3 separate regions of the Homo sapiens genome follow, and all the other regions are linked to region 3. Evidence: promoter capture Hi-C in 16 types of primary human blood cells and fetal thymus (Javierre and others, 2016). All regions are on one chromosome and are shown on one strand. Each heading gives the region's core, a stretch centred on a gene start or on the middle of the fragment in contact. The rest is flanking DNA. Distances are from core to core; before and after follow the strand shown. Region 1 overlaps CCDC90B (coiled-coil domain containing 90B). Region 2 overlaps CCDC90B-AS1 (CCDC90B antisense RNA 1). Region 3 holds the start of FAM181B (family with sequence similarity 181 member B).

Evidence for each region. The method cuts DNA at HindIII sites, captures the fragments that hold promoters and counts their contacts. A CHiCAGO score of 5 or more calls a contact.
Region 1: a contact is called between a fragment that was not itself captured here and the fragment with the promoter of FAM181B in region 3, in 4 of 17 cell types (naive CD4 T cells, naive CD8 T cells, total CD4 T cells and 1 more). The highest score is 10.9, in naive CD4 T cells.
Region 2: a fragment that was not itself captured here is called in contact with the fragment with the promoter of FAM181B in region 3 in 2 of 17 cell types (naive CD4 T cells and activated CD4 T cells); the score reaches 5.7 in naive CD4 T cells.

What each region holds. Positions count from the first base shown.
Region 1 is chr11:83,260,495-83,264,796 of GRCh38, forward strand. CCDC90B (coiled-coil domain containing 90B) reads right to left here. Exons shown (of 9, transcript NM_021825.5): 9 at 1-1,472. The coding sequence ends at 1,417. It also overlaps a transcript of ANKRD42 not described here. Among named protein-coding and RNA genes, the nearest start is that of CCDC90B-AS1, 23 kb to the right of the region's middle. The HindIII fragment of the contact is 4,657 bases long and covers 425-4,302 here.
Region 2 is chr11:83,288,024-83,292,593 of GRCh38, forward strand. All of the region lies in intron 1 of CCDC90B-AS1 (CCDC90B antisense RNA 1), which reads left to right. Among named protein-coding and RNA genes, the nearest start is that of CCDC90B, 3.9 kb to the left of the region's middle. The HindIII fragment of the contact is 5,322 bases long and covers 1-4,120 here.
Region 3 is chr11:82,732,581-82,737,209 of GRCh38, forward strand. FAM181B (family with sequence similarity 181 member B) reads right to left here and starts at 1,284. Exons shown (of 1, transcript NM_175885.4): 1 at 1-1,284. The coding sequence starts at 1,149. The HindIII fragment of the contact is 9,040 bases long and covers 1-4,213 here.

The DNA.
Region 1 (4,302 bases), core at 1,503-4,002, 530 kb after region 3:
GAAAACAAACCAGCAGTTAGATTTTTGAGGAAAATATAGTTGGAAAGCCTGACTCTCACTCACTGGACCATATGGACCAATCTCTTGACTGCTCTATACTGCAGATTCCCTGTTTATAGCTAAACAAATGACAAGGCTATTTTGAATAATGATTGTCAAACTTTTATAGCTATTACCAAGGCATTATGAACTCAAAATGTTTACTTTCTGGTCTTGTCTTCTTGATCTGGGTAAGACTGAAGAACTAAGATGAAAAGGATATTTTAAAATTTCTTTGAAATTACATATGATTTACTAATAGATATTACTTTGTAAGAAAAAATATATCTAATAACAAAACAAAATACGAATTTAAATTTTCCTATGAGTTTCTTGAGAGTAGGTACTAGATATCAATGTTTGCTGAATTGAAGTCATTAAGAAAAGCTTTGTTTTATGTAATAAATTTAAGATGGGTTAACTTAAACTACATTAAGAAGCAGGGATAAACTGGTTTTTGAGTATCAAATATTTAAAAAATACATGTAATAATCAGAGCTCAATATTTAGCAACTCTACAGATTTCATATTAAGTGTTGTAATTTGCACTAAAGCACACATTTATTTATTTAGGTAATGGAGTCTTGCTCTGTCACCCAGGCTGGAGTGCAGTGGTGCTATCTCGGCTCACTGCAAGATTCTCCTGCCTCAGCCTCCCGAGTAGCTGGAATTACAGGCATGTGCCACCATGCCTGGCTAATTTTTGTATTTTTAGCAGAGACGGGGTTTCACCATGTTGGCCAGGCTGGTCTAGAACTCCTGACCTCAAGTGATCCACCCGCCTCAGCCTCCCAAAGTGCTGAGATTACAGGTGTGAGCCACCGCGCCTGGCCTATCATTTTAAAATTTATTGTTTTAGTTCATTACCAAAAAGAAATCAATCTCCAACTATATGGTAAGTCACTTTGAAAACCCACACAACTTTGTTGTAATAATCTTTCATTTTATAGAAAAATGTAATTATGCAATGGTTATCAGGAAAGTTAATTCAGTAATAAATATGTAGGCTAGGGAATGGTTTACAAATATTCAACCAATACCCACAAAATCCTGTATGATTTACACAACTGTTCAAGCAAACATAAGAAAACTCTGGTTCAATTTCTATTAACTATCAAAAGGACAAAATGCTCTTCTATCTCAAACCAGGTCTGAGTGACAGCTTTTCAATATAATAAAGACACACACCTGCACTCACACACACACAATAAAGACACAGTATCTCTTCTCATTCTAAAACACTTCCTCTTTTAGTCCGTATACACTTCGAATAATCTTGTGTAGTAAATTTTTGCTGCAACTGACAATGTTCAAAGTAAATCTCTCCCGGTTTGGTGTTCTAAGAAGCCAACAGCCACAGCAGGATGAGCATTAATACTACTTCCAGAATCTATAAAATCCCAATGCTATTGCCAGGCAAGTAAACACCGAAGCTGTGAAAAGAAGAAACTGTGTTATAGGTCTTGTATCTGTAATTATTTTGCAGAGATAAAGAGAATAATGTTATCTTTAAGTGAAGAGCAAAAAACAGGAAATCCAACCAATTTTCTATCCTATGTTTTTTATTCCCTAGACAATTAAGTATGAAAGACATTCTTAAGGGCAGCCTTAATGCCTAATTCTTCTTAAAAGCACCTGTATATTAAAATGTAAATTATGTCATTTAGAAACCTATAACCTGTATTTAAAATCATTAACGCTAGCATTATTGACTACTTTAAATAATTATAAGCTCTAATTTCAGATCTCATGATAAATGAAATCTTTCTTATATTAAAAAATTACGTAGTTAGGCTAGTAAAATATACATATATCTGTGAGAAGAGAATTTTAATTGCCTTTTCAGTACATTTTTAAATAATTTCTCATAATTCTTAATAAAATTTTAATAAAAACTCTTTAAACTCAATGAGGTAGAAGAAAAGGCAGAAAAAGCATTAGGTTTTTAAAATAGTTAATATACTACCTGTACTTTAGCTTACATCATTTTGGATAAAAAAAAATTCAGTTTTCCCAGCTTTTAGAAGGTAAGTCTGAGTGAGGCCTTTAGGGACTCCCTAGTCTCCAGTTTGTTTAAAACACCGATGAATGAATTTTTAAAAACAGACAAGTGAGAGATGAATGGAAAACTTTTATGAATAAAGACACAAGAAATTAGCCTTTCAAAGTAAAGTTATTCATAATGTATAAACCCATTTGTACACCACCCCATTTGATCCTACTACTTACTGAAACTTGGTTAATGATAAGATCATTTTCTCAGTTTTAAGAAATGGGATTAGGCATCTCTAAGAAATATAGAGAAGTAATAACACTAAGAGTTTCTTGTCTTACAGCCACTGGGCAATTATATATTCTCCCATTTGATCCTGCTACTATTTGCTGTGTGTCAAGTACTATGCTACTATGCTGAGCAATTACACACACTACTTTATTTAACCATGAGATTGGTGGTATTATCCCCATTGTACAGATGAGGTAATACACCCAGTTACATCGCTAGCAAACAGTGGAGCCGGGATTTAAGACTAAGTGTACTTGACTCCAAAGCCATTTTTTTTCTCTTAATAAAAAAACACACACACAAAATTTGTGATCCTTATTATATACTGTGACACTTGAAAGACTCAATCTGTCATTTATTTGAGTCACATAGTGCTATCTAAGTGGTTACATCCTCTGCTGATTCAACAGCTGATAAATTAAGTTTTAGATAACCAAATGAACACTTATTGTGAGGTGAAGTATACTCTACTTCAGTAGAGTATACAATCGTTACTGCATTTAAGTTTCTCTCTCATGTCTTGCTGCTGTTATTTCAGCTTTTATTTCTCATGGCTGTTGTTGCAGTAACAACAACAATTGGAGCCATCTCCAATTTCTTTTAAGTTTGCTGTTTATCCTCTATACCCTGTCTAGGGAGACATTCTACATATATGTAAAATGCTTAGGTGAGCATATGCCTGGTACATTTTAAGCACTCTGTAAACATTAGCTTTCATTATTTATCTGCCACGAACAAAATCTGCCACATTATCTACATAGATTAAATGGAAATTGCCATTATTCCTTGGTGGCAGTGTTCTGGGTCAAAAGGTGGCGTCTGACCCACGATGAACCATTCAGACTCCTTTCTGAGGATTTTAAAAATTGGAACTAAGGAAAGAGGGCAATCTCTCCTGATTAGTGAAAGTGGAATGATAAGAGTCTAGGTGGTAATGTTTCCAACCTATGGAGAAAGCTGGTATGAGAAATTGAGGCACACAGTCACAGATTTAAAGAGTAAGTTCTGATTCCAATTATGCTTGTAGGTAGGCTATTTTACTTGTGCCCCATCCACGGTTCAGCTGATGGCTGGGGGCTCCATCTTCAACCCTGCTGGCACCTCAACATCAGTAGTGACTGCCCAGAAAATGACTAAGAGTATAAATCGGCAGTTTTCTTTTAGACAGCAATTTGTTAATATCAAAAATCTTAAATGTGCATATCTTTTTGACCCCAAATTTTAAATGTACATAGCAAGTTGTTATATAGAAATACTAGCACAGGGCCACCAAGATATGTGTGTGTGTATGTGTATTTACTCAAACGTTAACACATATATATGGCTGTTCAATACAGTATTGTCCTTAATAATAAAAAACTGAAGGGAGAATGCCTGTTAATAAAGGACTGGATACATAAATTGTGGCATTTTCATATAGGGAATACTGTGCTTTCTAATAAAAAGATGTCTGTGTGGAAAGAAATAGGACATTTGGTTAAACTTTAAAAAGTTGTAGACTATAAAAAATACGTGATCTAATTATTTTTAAGAAGTATATAAGATGTTTATATACAGAAGAAAAAGCCTAGAAAATGTTTACTACTAATAGTAAATACACACGGGGAGGGGCTTTCACTTTTTCGGCTTTTGAATTCTATGAATAATTTATAATGAAATTCTGGGTTGAAAATTCTTTTCTTTAAGAATGTTGAATATTGGCCCCCACTCTCTTCTGGCTTTGTAGAGTTTCTGCTGAGAGATCTGCTGTTAGTCTGACGGGCTTCCCTTTGAGGGTAACCCGACCTTTTTCTCTGGCTGCCCTTAACATTTTTTCCTTCATTTCAACTTTGGTGAATCTGACAATTATGGAGTTGCTCTTCTCGAGGAGTATCTTTGTTGGAACCAACCCAAATGGCCAACAATGATAGACTGGATTAAGAAAATGTGGCACATATACACCATGGAATACTATGCAGCCATAAAAAATGATGAGTTCA
Region 2 (4,570 bases), core at 210-2,709, 560 kb after region 3:
GCTGCGGTGCCCAGCTCTGTGTCTTTTTGATGGCATGAATTATTTTCCTTTGGGTATATACCCAGTAGTGGGATTGCTGGGTTGAATGGTAGTTGTATTTTAAGTTCTTTGAGAAATCTCCAAACTGCTTTCCATAGTGGCTGAACTAGTTTGCATTCCCATCAACAGAGTATAAGCATTCCCTTTTCTTCACAGCCTAACCAATATGTGAATTTTTTTTCTTAATAATTGCCATTCTGATGGGTGTGAGATGGCATCTCATTGTAGTTTTGATTTGCATTTCTCTAATGATCAGTGGTGTTGAGGATTTTTTCATGTTTGTTGGCTATTTGTATGTCTTCTTTTGAGAAGTGTGTGTTCATGTCCTTTGCTCATTTTTTAATTGGATTGTTTTATACTTCTTGGTTTGTTTAAATTCCTTATAGATTCTGGATGTTAGACCTTTGTCAGATGCATAGTTTGCAAATATTTTCTCCTTCCCATTCTTAGGCTATCTGTTTACTCTGTTGGTAATTTCTTTTGCTGTGCAGAAGCTCTTTAATTAGGTCCCACTTGTCAGTTTTTATTTTTGTTGTAATTGCTGTTGGGGACTTAGCTATAAATTCTTTTCCAAAGCCTGTGTCAAGAAGGGTATTTCCTAGTTTTTTTTCTAGAGTTTTTATAGTTTGAGGGCTTACTTTTAAATCTTTAATCCAGCTTGTGGTAATTTTTGTATATGGTGAGAGGTAGGGGGGTCCAGTTTCATTCTTCTGCATATGGCTAGCCAGTTATCCCACCACCATTTACTGAATAGGGAATGCTATCCGTGTTGCTTATTTTTGTTGATTTTGTTGAAGACCAGATGGTTTTAGGTGTGTGGCTTTATTTCTGGGTTCTCTATTCTGTTCTACTGGTCTATGTGTCTGTTTTTGTAACACTACCATGCTGTTTTGATTAGTTTAGCCTTATAGTATTGTTTGAAGTCTTGCTTTGTTCTTTTTGCTTAAGATTGCTTTGACTATTCAGGCTCTTTTTTGGTTCCAAATTAATTTTAGAAGAGGTTTTTCTAGTTCTGTGAAAAATGATGTTGGTATTTTGATAAGGATAGCGTTAAATCTGTAATTTGTTTTGGATAGTATGGCCATTTTAACTGTATTGATTCTTCCAACCCATGAGCATGGAATATTTCTCCATTTATTTGTGTTGTCTCTGCTTTCTTTCAGTAGTGTTTTGTAGTTCTCCTTGCAGAGATCTTTCACCTCCCTGGTGAGATGATCCTGAGTATTCCATTTTCTTTGTGCCTATTGTAAATGGGATTGTGTTCTTGATTTGATTCTCAGCTAGAACATTATTGGTGTATAAAAATGCTACTGATTTTTTGTGCATTGATTGTGTATCCTGAAACTTTACTGAATTTGTTTATCAGTTCCAGGGGCCTTTGGGAGAGTCTTTAGGGTTTTCTAGGTGTAGAATCATATCGTTGGCAAAGAGAGATAGTTTACCTTCCTCTCTTCCTATTTGAATATCTTTATTTATTTCTCTTGCCTGATTGCCCTGGCTGGGACTTCCAGTACTATGTTGAATAAGGGTGGTGAGAATGGGCATCCTTTTCTTGTTCCAGTTCTCAAGGGGAATGTGTTTCCAGTTTTGGCCTTTAGCAATTTAGTAATATATTTATGAAACTCCAAAAAGTAAATAGCCAGAGTTTCACTTCTTCTTTTTTTTTTTTTTTTTTGAGACAGAGTCTTGCTCTATCACCCAGGCTGGAGTGCAACGGTGTGATCTTGGCTCACTGCAACCTCAGCCTCCCGGGTTCAAGCAATTCTCCTGCCTCAGCCTCCCAAGTAGCTGGGATTACAGGCATGCGCTGCCACACCCAGCTAATTTTTGTATTTTTAGTAGAGGTGGGGTTTCGCCATGCTGGTCAGGCTGGTCTTGAACTCCTGACCTCAGGTGATCCACCCATCTCGGTCTCTCAGAGTGCTGGGATTACAGGCAACTGTGAGCCACCGCACCTGGCCTAGAGTTTCACTTCTAAGAAGCTATCCATAGTAAATAATCACATCTGTAGCTAAGATTTTTGAAAAGGATGACTATTGCAATGTTATTTATAGTAGTGAAAAATTGAAAATAGTCTAAGTATTCAAAAGTGATTAAATAACTTGCAGAAGTGTCCCAATTTGGAATATTATGCAAGAATTTAGTATTTTTAAAAATAATCTTAGTGACAGGAAAATCCTTAATACATGTATATACATAATTATAATTCTGTATAATTCTTATATACAGGATTATAATTATAATTATATACATGATTATAATTCTGTTAAATGATAGGATCCCTGCTTGGGAGGAGCTAACAGGCTAGTGGAAGATACAGACCAGTAAGTGTTATCACAATATTTTACTTAACTTAAGGAATTATTATGAAAAAAGTGGATCTCTTTATATATTAATTCATGTTACTATTATTTATATTAACATAAAGCTCTCTCTGTAACACACATATACAGTGTTGATTATGTTCTCTTTGATGGAAGTGGCAATTAGATCCAGGGATTCTTAATCATTCTCTGAGGCTGGCTGGAACTATATCAAGTGAGTGCAGGAGCTTGGGTCATCCATAATCTACCATGCAGGCCAGAGAAGCATAGGAAGGAAAAGCAGGAATAGCAGATGAAGTGAGTCCAGATAGTATTCAGCTAATAGATACAGCTCCTCTCTGAGACCTCCTAATGCTCCTGTGTATTTTCAGATTCTCCTTGGTTGCTATTGTTTCTTTGTTAAACATCTTAATTTATAAAAATATTTTTCCATAAATTTGTTAATGTTTTCTCATGTTTGTTGAGAGGAATAGAAAAGATGATGCATCTAAAATACTTAGCACTGGACCTGGCATATACAAGCACCCAATAAACAATAATAATACCTGCTTACTCAGAGTTAGGAAATAATTTCCATGGGTGTCTCATGTTTCTGTATGTTTTACAAATGGAGGTCTTCTCTGCCTTTTGTTGTGGCAGTTTTGTATAACGAACAACCTTAGGAAATATAGCATCTCTCTCTGGAGCAAAAGGCCTCATGCTTACTGCCTATTATAAAAGATTTGTGTTCTCATAGGTCAGGGTTCCTCTCTGTAATGCAATGTACTGTACGTGCTCAGGCATCTACGTAGCCCCAGCTGCATCATCCCCATGAACTTGGGGCCAAGGGGAGCTGACACAAATATGCCGATACTCGTGCTGCTCGCTGCACCATCAGTAATTGGGTTCTTTGTTTCTAGCAAGGAGTCTCATATCTTCTACCAGCATCCATGCAACCATGACAGGATAACTTGATAGCCTGCTAATAGGGTAAGATCTCGGACCCTTCACAATATTATTCTTCTCTGGACTTTTAAACATTTTTCATTTTTCCAGTTTTACTTACAGAAATATCTGAGTGCCAGCTAGGTTTAAGGTTAGATGTGAGGAATGTAAAGAAAACCAGTTCAATCCAACAACTATTCAAGTTCTTACTACGTGCAGGGATTTCTGCTAGGATACGCAAGGATTGCAAAGATTTCTGCTCTCCAGTAATTTGTAATATATTAATAACTGAGAGAATAGAACAAGCATTTTAATAGCCTTCAACACAGAGCTTTAATAGGTTAGTGTCATGTAAATGTTAAGAAAATAATAAATCCTATAATTCAGTTGAAGGTTAAATGCTTTTTGATAATGGTTATCAAGAAGAGATAGGATTTGAACCTTAGGGGTTTTAGTTAGTAGAGGTTGTAAGGCAAGGGGTCCAGGAGAGAGGATTGGAGTGAGCAAGTACAATTTACTCATCGCTTTGCTCCTTCCTACTCAGGGACTTTGCATATGGTAAAGCATCACTACTCAACTTGGAGCTCTTTCTCCTCTTTATCTGGCCAATTCCTTTATATCTTTCAGATTCCAGTTTAAATGGTGACTTTTTAGAGTAACTCTTTAAGAAGTCATTCCCACTCAAACAACATGCAGATTTGGTACTTTTGTTATGGACTCATACAGCAACCCAGCCTTCCCATGTCTCTGCACTTAATATTTGTTTTCTCCATTATGGTAGAGACCATATGTGTCATGGTGTCTCCAGTGCTTATCATGCCTGGGCCATAACAAGCTTTTGGTAAGTGTGTGTTGAATGAATGAGTGAATGTTCAAAATATGGTCATAGTTTGGTGAGGAAACTTCGTAGACTGGGGCATAGGAATTATATGAAGACTGGGTGGAATTGGGGTGAACAAAATGAAAAAGGTAGAATAAAAAAGACTAAGGAAATTGAATTTCATACAGTGGACTTGCAGGAGATTTTGAAATTTTTTGAGCTAAAATAGATAAAAATCAGTTTGAATTTCTTTCTAGAAAATAACTATTTGCCATTTGCTAGTGTAGGCAAATGAATCCTTTCCTCTTCCAATGTCTGATGAGATGGCCTGGACATGAGAAATGCTCCCCTGCTGAAAGCAGCCTAGTTTATCTAAATCTCAAAGGCCAACAGGGTAGCAGGGAAGTGGGTCCTGGTTTTTTTCATTGCAAATAACCACTTTTTTTTTTTTACCTTTATAAGC
Region 3 (4,629 bases), core at 34-2,533:
GGGCAGGGCGCAGTCTGGAAAGAAGGGGGCGAAAGAGGCCAAATGGCCCCGCCCGTCCTCCCCGCCGGGAGAATCCGCAGCGGCGGGGTACAGGGGGCTCAAGGGCTCGTTCAAGGTCAAGCCGCCGCGGGGGGCAGTCAGGGGGCTCTTTTTGGTCGGGGAGCAGCCCGGGACGCTCCAGGGCTCGGGGTACAGTAGGTTTCCCACCACTGCCGGCGGCGGCTCAAAGAGGCCGGGCTCCAGCTCCGGGGGTCCCCGCAGTACGGAGGCTCCGGCGGGGAACACGTCGAGAGGCTCGGCGGCAAGCAAGACTGCCGCCTCCGTGCCGGCGCCGTAGTCGGGCCCCAGCAGCTCAAAGAACTCCACGGCCTCCGCGCCCTTCTCCAGGTCGCCCAAGCTCACGTCCGGCCCCGACGGGCCACACCCGCCGCCGCCTGCCCGGGACGGCTCCGTGAAGAAGGACGGAGGCAGATTGCGTGCCCGCAGCGGGACCTTCCTGGCCCCTGGGATCGCCGTGGCCCCCGCGGGGCCTGCCACGTCCCCTCCCGCGCCCCCAGTGCCCGCACCTCCTAGCCCGGCCGCCGGCGCAGCCACCTCACCCCCCGCCGGCTCGGCACCCCCGGGGACGTGGCGCAGCGAGTCGAAGAGCGCGGCCAGACTTCGGCTTTGCAAGCTGGCGGCCGCGGCGGCCTGCGACGCCTCCCGCCGGGGGGCAGCCTTGCCGTGGGCCGGGGCCGCGACTGTCGGGGCGCTAGGGGCGGCCAGCGGCCGTTTGGCTGGCGTGTCGGCGGCGCTCGGGGAGGGCGGGCCGGGGGGCGCGGCGCCCATGAGGCCGCTGCAGCGCTTGATCTGCTTCTGCAGGTACTTGCGGTGGTTCACCTTCCGCTTCGACTTGCCCGGCTTGTCCAGCGCCAGCTTGATGTTGCTGGACGCCGAGTCAATGAAGCTGAGTAGATCGCGGGTGGCCTCGCGCACGTCCCCTCCTTCGGCTCCCGACAGCAGCGCACCCGCCGGAGCCCCGGTCTCATCGTCCTCGAAACAGCAGCCCTTGTCCAGGGCTCCGAAGGCGCCCCCTAGCCCGTCCGGGGAGCCCCCGAAGCCGAAGGGCACGAAAGGGTGCGTGCTGAGGAGCGCCGCCTGCACCGCCATCGCCGCGGCTCCCGGGCTGTCCGCAGCGCTGCCCGTGCGCCCCCGCCAGCTCCTGCCCGCCGCCCAGACCCAGCTCCCGCCCCGGCGCGGCGCGCGCGGCGCAGCCTACTAGTTCCGGGCCTGGCTCGCTGCGCTGCCTCCCGGGGGAGCTCATTAGGTCTTGTAAGCAAGGGGCGGAGGGAGGGAGCGCGCGGCGACCGTCCCGGTGGTAGAGGGGAGGGGCTTACTTAGCCTGGCTTGGAGGAGTGGGGGGTCGCTTTAGTTTTCTGAGCTTTCTGAAGCTCAACGCCTTAACTCCTTCGTTTCCCTTTGCCCCGTGGTGTTTCTCTTGACTCCTCTAACCGCAAGGGGTGAGGAAGAGATGGCTGGTCTCAAACTCCAGTTCAGGCCCATGAGGCCGCTGCAGCGCTTGATAGGCTTCTGCAGGTACTTGCGGTGGTGCCTCTCCTGAGGCAAGAAGGCAGGAGTCTAGAGACGTGGGTTTCAGTCCAGCTGTATAACAACACCCACCAGCTTCTGGGCGCTTGCTTCTGCCAGGCGCTGTCCATCTATTATCTCATTTAATCCTTGAACAACAGCCCTGTGAATTACATGTTATCGCCATTCAACAAACGTGGACACTGCACCTCAGGGAGGTTCAGTGAGTTGGCCAAAGTCAGATCTAGCCCATTCTGACTCCAAAGCCATTCCTAAGCCCTTGACAATACTTGCGTCCTCTCTTGCCCTTGCCTTTCTCATCTATTAAGATGGGGAAGGAAAATGAGTATTTCTTAAAGCTCTAGACCTGATCCTAAGATTCTAACCTGAGTTTTCCCAGGATTCTCAAGCCCAGTGCTCTTTCTTCTTGACTGTTTGCCACTTGATTGTTACGAGTAACAATTGGCTAACAGTAAATTGAGGCCAGCAGTGGCCCATCTTTTATTAACACATAGCAGGAGGCAATGGAGAAAGGAGTCGATCTGGCTAAGCCCCCTGTTACTTGAGAACACTGTGTGTGTATAAAACTCTCAGCATGTTAGAATAAAAGATGGATTGGAACCTCTCCCCTACCTGTCATACCATTTAGGTTATCCCTGGAATTTTCATTGCATTTCAGGGATCATCATGAAGTTCACTTAAAACTAATTTCACCTGGGCAATCCTCTTTGGGATAGATAGAGAAAATGAGCAATAAGGTCATTTTCACAAGAGATTCAGAAGAGGCTTGGGTTCTGGTCTTAGCCACCACTCAATAACCTCATGACTTAGGTTGAAATCCTTGCTCTGCTGAGTGCATGGCTTTAGACAAACCAGCGTACTCTCTCTGTTTAGCTTACTCATGTTAAATGCAGGTAAAGTTGCCCTCCCCACAGGGCACTTGTGATATTTAAATGATACATTGTTCCATAGCCTGGATGAGTATTCACCCTTACTTCTCTGAAACACAAAAAGGTGACTATATCCCTTACGTGTCTTCTGGATCATAGGGTGTTCATGAGCATTAAGTGAGATCATAGATGCTTCTCAATTTGTGATAGAGCAACAACATCCTGATAAACACATTGTAAGTTGAAAATATTGTAGGTTAAAATGCATGTAATACACTGATTCAAGTTGGAAAATCATAAAGTTGAACCATCATAAGTTGGGGACTGTCTCTATATGAAAACACTGTGTGTGTGATAAAGTGTTCTCTAAATAAGTTACTCTAGTTTCGATACAGAGCTTGCATAGGAGAGACATAGACCATCTCTTTCAAAACTCTTTTTATTAAGCCTCACTTTGTAGATGTAGCGAAACCATTTTTGAACACCATGAAGGCACAGCCTTACCAAAGAAAAAAGGCCAGATGGGCCATCAGAGAAATACAAATCAAAACCGCAATGAGATACCATCTCACACCAGTTAGAATGACGATCATTAAAAAGTCAGGAAACAACAGGTGCTGGAGAGCATGTGGAGAAATAGGAACACTTTTATACTGTTGGTGGGACTGTAAACTAGTTCAACCATTGTGGAAGACAGTGTGGCGATTCCTCAAGGATCTAGAACTAGAAATACCATTTGAACCAGCCATCCCATTACTGGGTATATACCCAAAGTATTATAAATCTTGCTGCTATAAAGACACGTGCACACGTATGTTTATTGTGGCACATAGCAAAGACTATTATTCACATAGCAAAGACTTGGGACCAACCCAAATGTCTATCAGTGATACACTGGATTAAGAAAATGTGGCACATATACACCATAGAATACTATGCAGCCATAAAAAAGGATGACTTCATGTCTTTTGTAGGGACATGGATGAAGCTGGAAACCATCATTCTGAGCAAACTATCGCAAGGACAGAAAACCAAACACTGCACAGGTGGGAAATGAACAATGAGAACACTTGGACACAGGGTGGGGAACATCACACACCGGGGCCTGTCGTGGGGTGGGGGGATGGGGGAGGGATAGCGTCAGGAGATATACCTAATGTAAATGACAAGTTAATGGGTGCAGCACACCAACATGGCACATGTATACATACGTAACAAACCTGCACATTGTGCACATGTACCCTAGAACTTAAAGTATAATAAAAAAGAAAGAAAGAAAAAAGGCCAGATGAACATTTTTCATTTAGAAGATGAAGTAGCCACTTCCCAAACCCACATAGCTGAGCCAAACTTTTTATTTTAAATTCAAATTGGCTCAATTATCATGGACTTTTCATTTGAGTTACACACAGCATTTTGTCCTCCATGGCCGAACTGTCTGTTTTACTCTTGGTGGTATTCACATTCAGAAAATTGTGCAGACCTGTCACTGATTTGTGCTTCTTCCACTCCAGATGTGGATGTCAGCACTGCCCATCCCCTTTCCAACAGGGCCATTCCATAGGCTTCCAGGTCTGGCAGCCAAAAGCACTAACTTTTTTTTTTTTTCACCTTCTGTCAACTGAGCACTCTTACAAGTCCTTGGACACCAATTGCACAGTACTCTACATTTAATCGACATCTTATTCCGAAAAAACTCTTAATCCCCAGGGTTATCTAAATCCTAAAATCATATTCAAAATAAATGGAATATGAAAAGCTTCATATGTAAAAGTCTTTCTTCATTTCTATTGGAGTTCTGCACATCAAAGTTGATTTGAAGTTAGATGAGGCCAGGTTCAAATTCTGGCCCTGCCTATTGCTATTGAACTGCTTGGACAAGTCAGTTCATATTCCAAAGGCTCAAACTCCTTATCTGAAAAAAGGGAATGGTCATAATTGTTCTCAGGGTGAGAATTACATGACATAACAGGCAAGTAATGCCTCTGAATCTTACTTTTCTCACCTGCACAGTGGAGATAATCTCAACTCCTCAAGGTTGTTGTGAGATGGTATATATAAAAGCACCTCACACAAAATAGCAGTTCAACAAATGTCCATGTTCTTGATTCCTTAGGCCCCACCCATTCCTTACCAACACATTACCCTATGAAACCAGCATCATTTGTCCTTT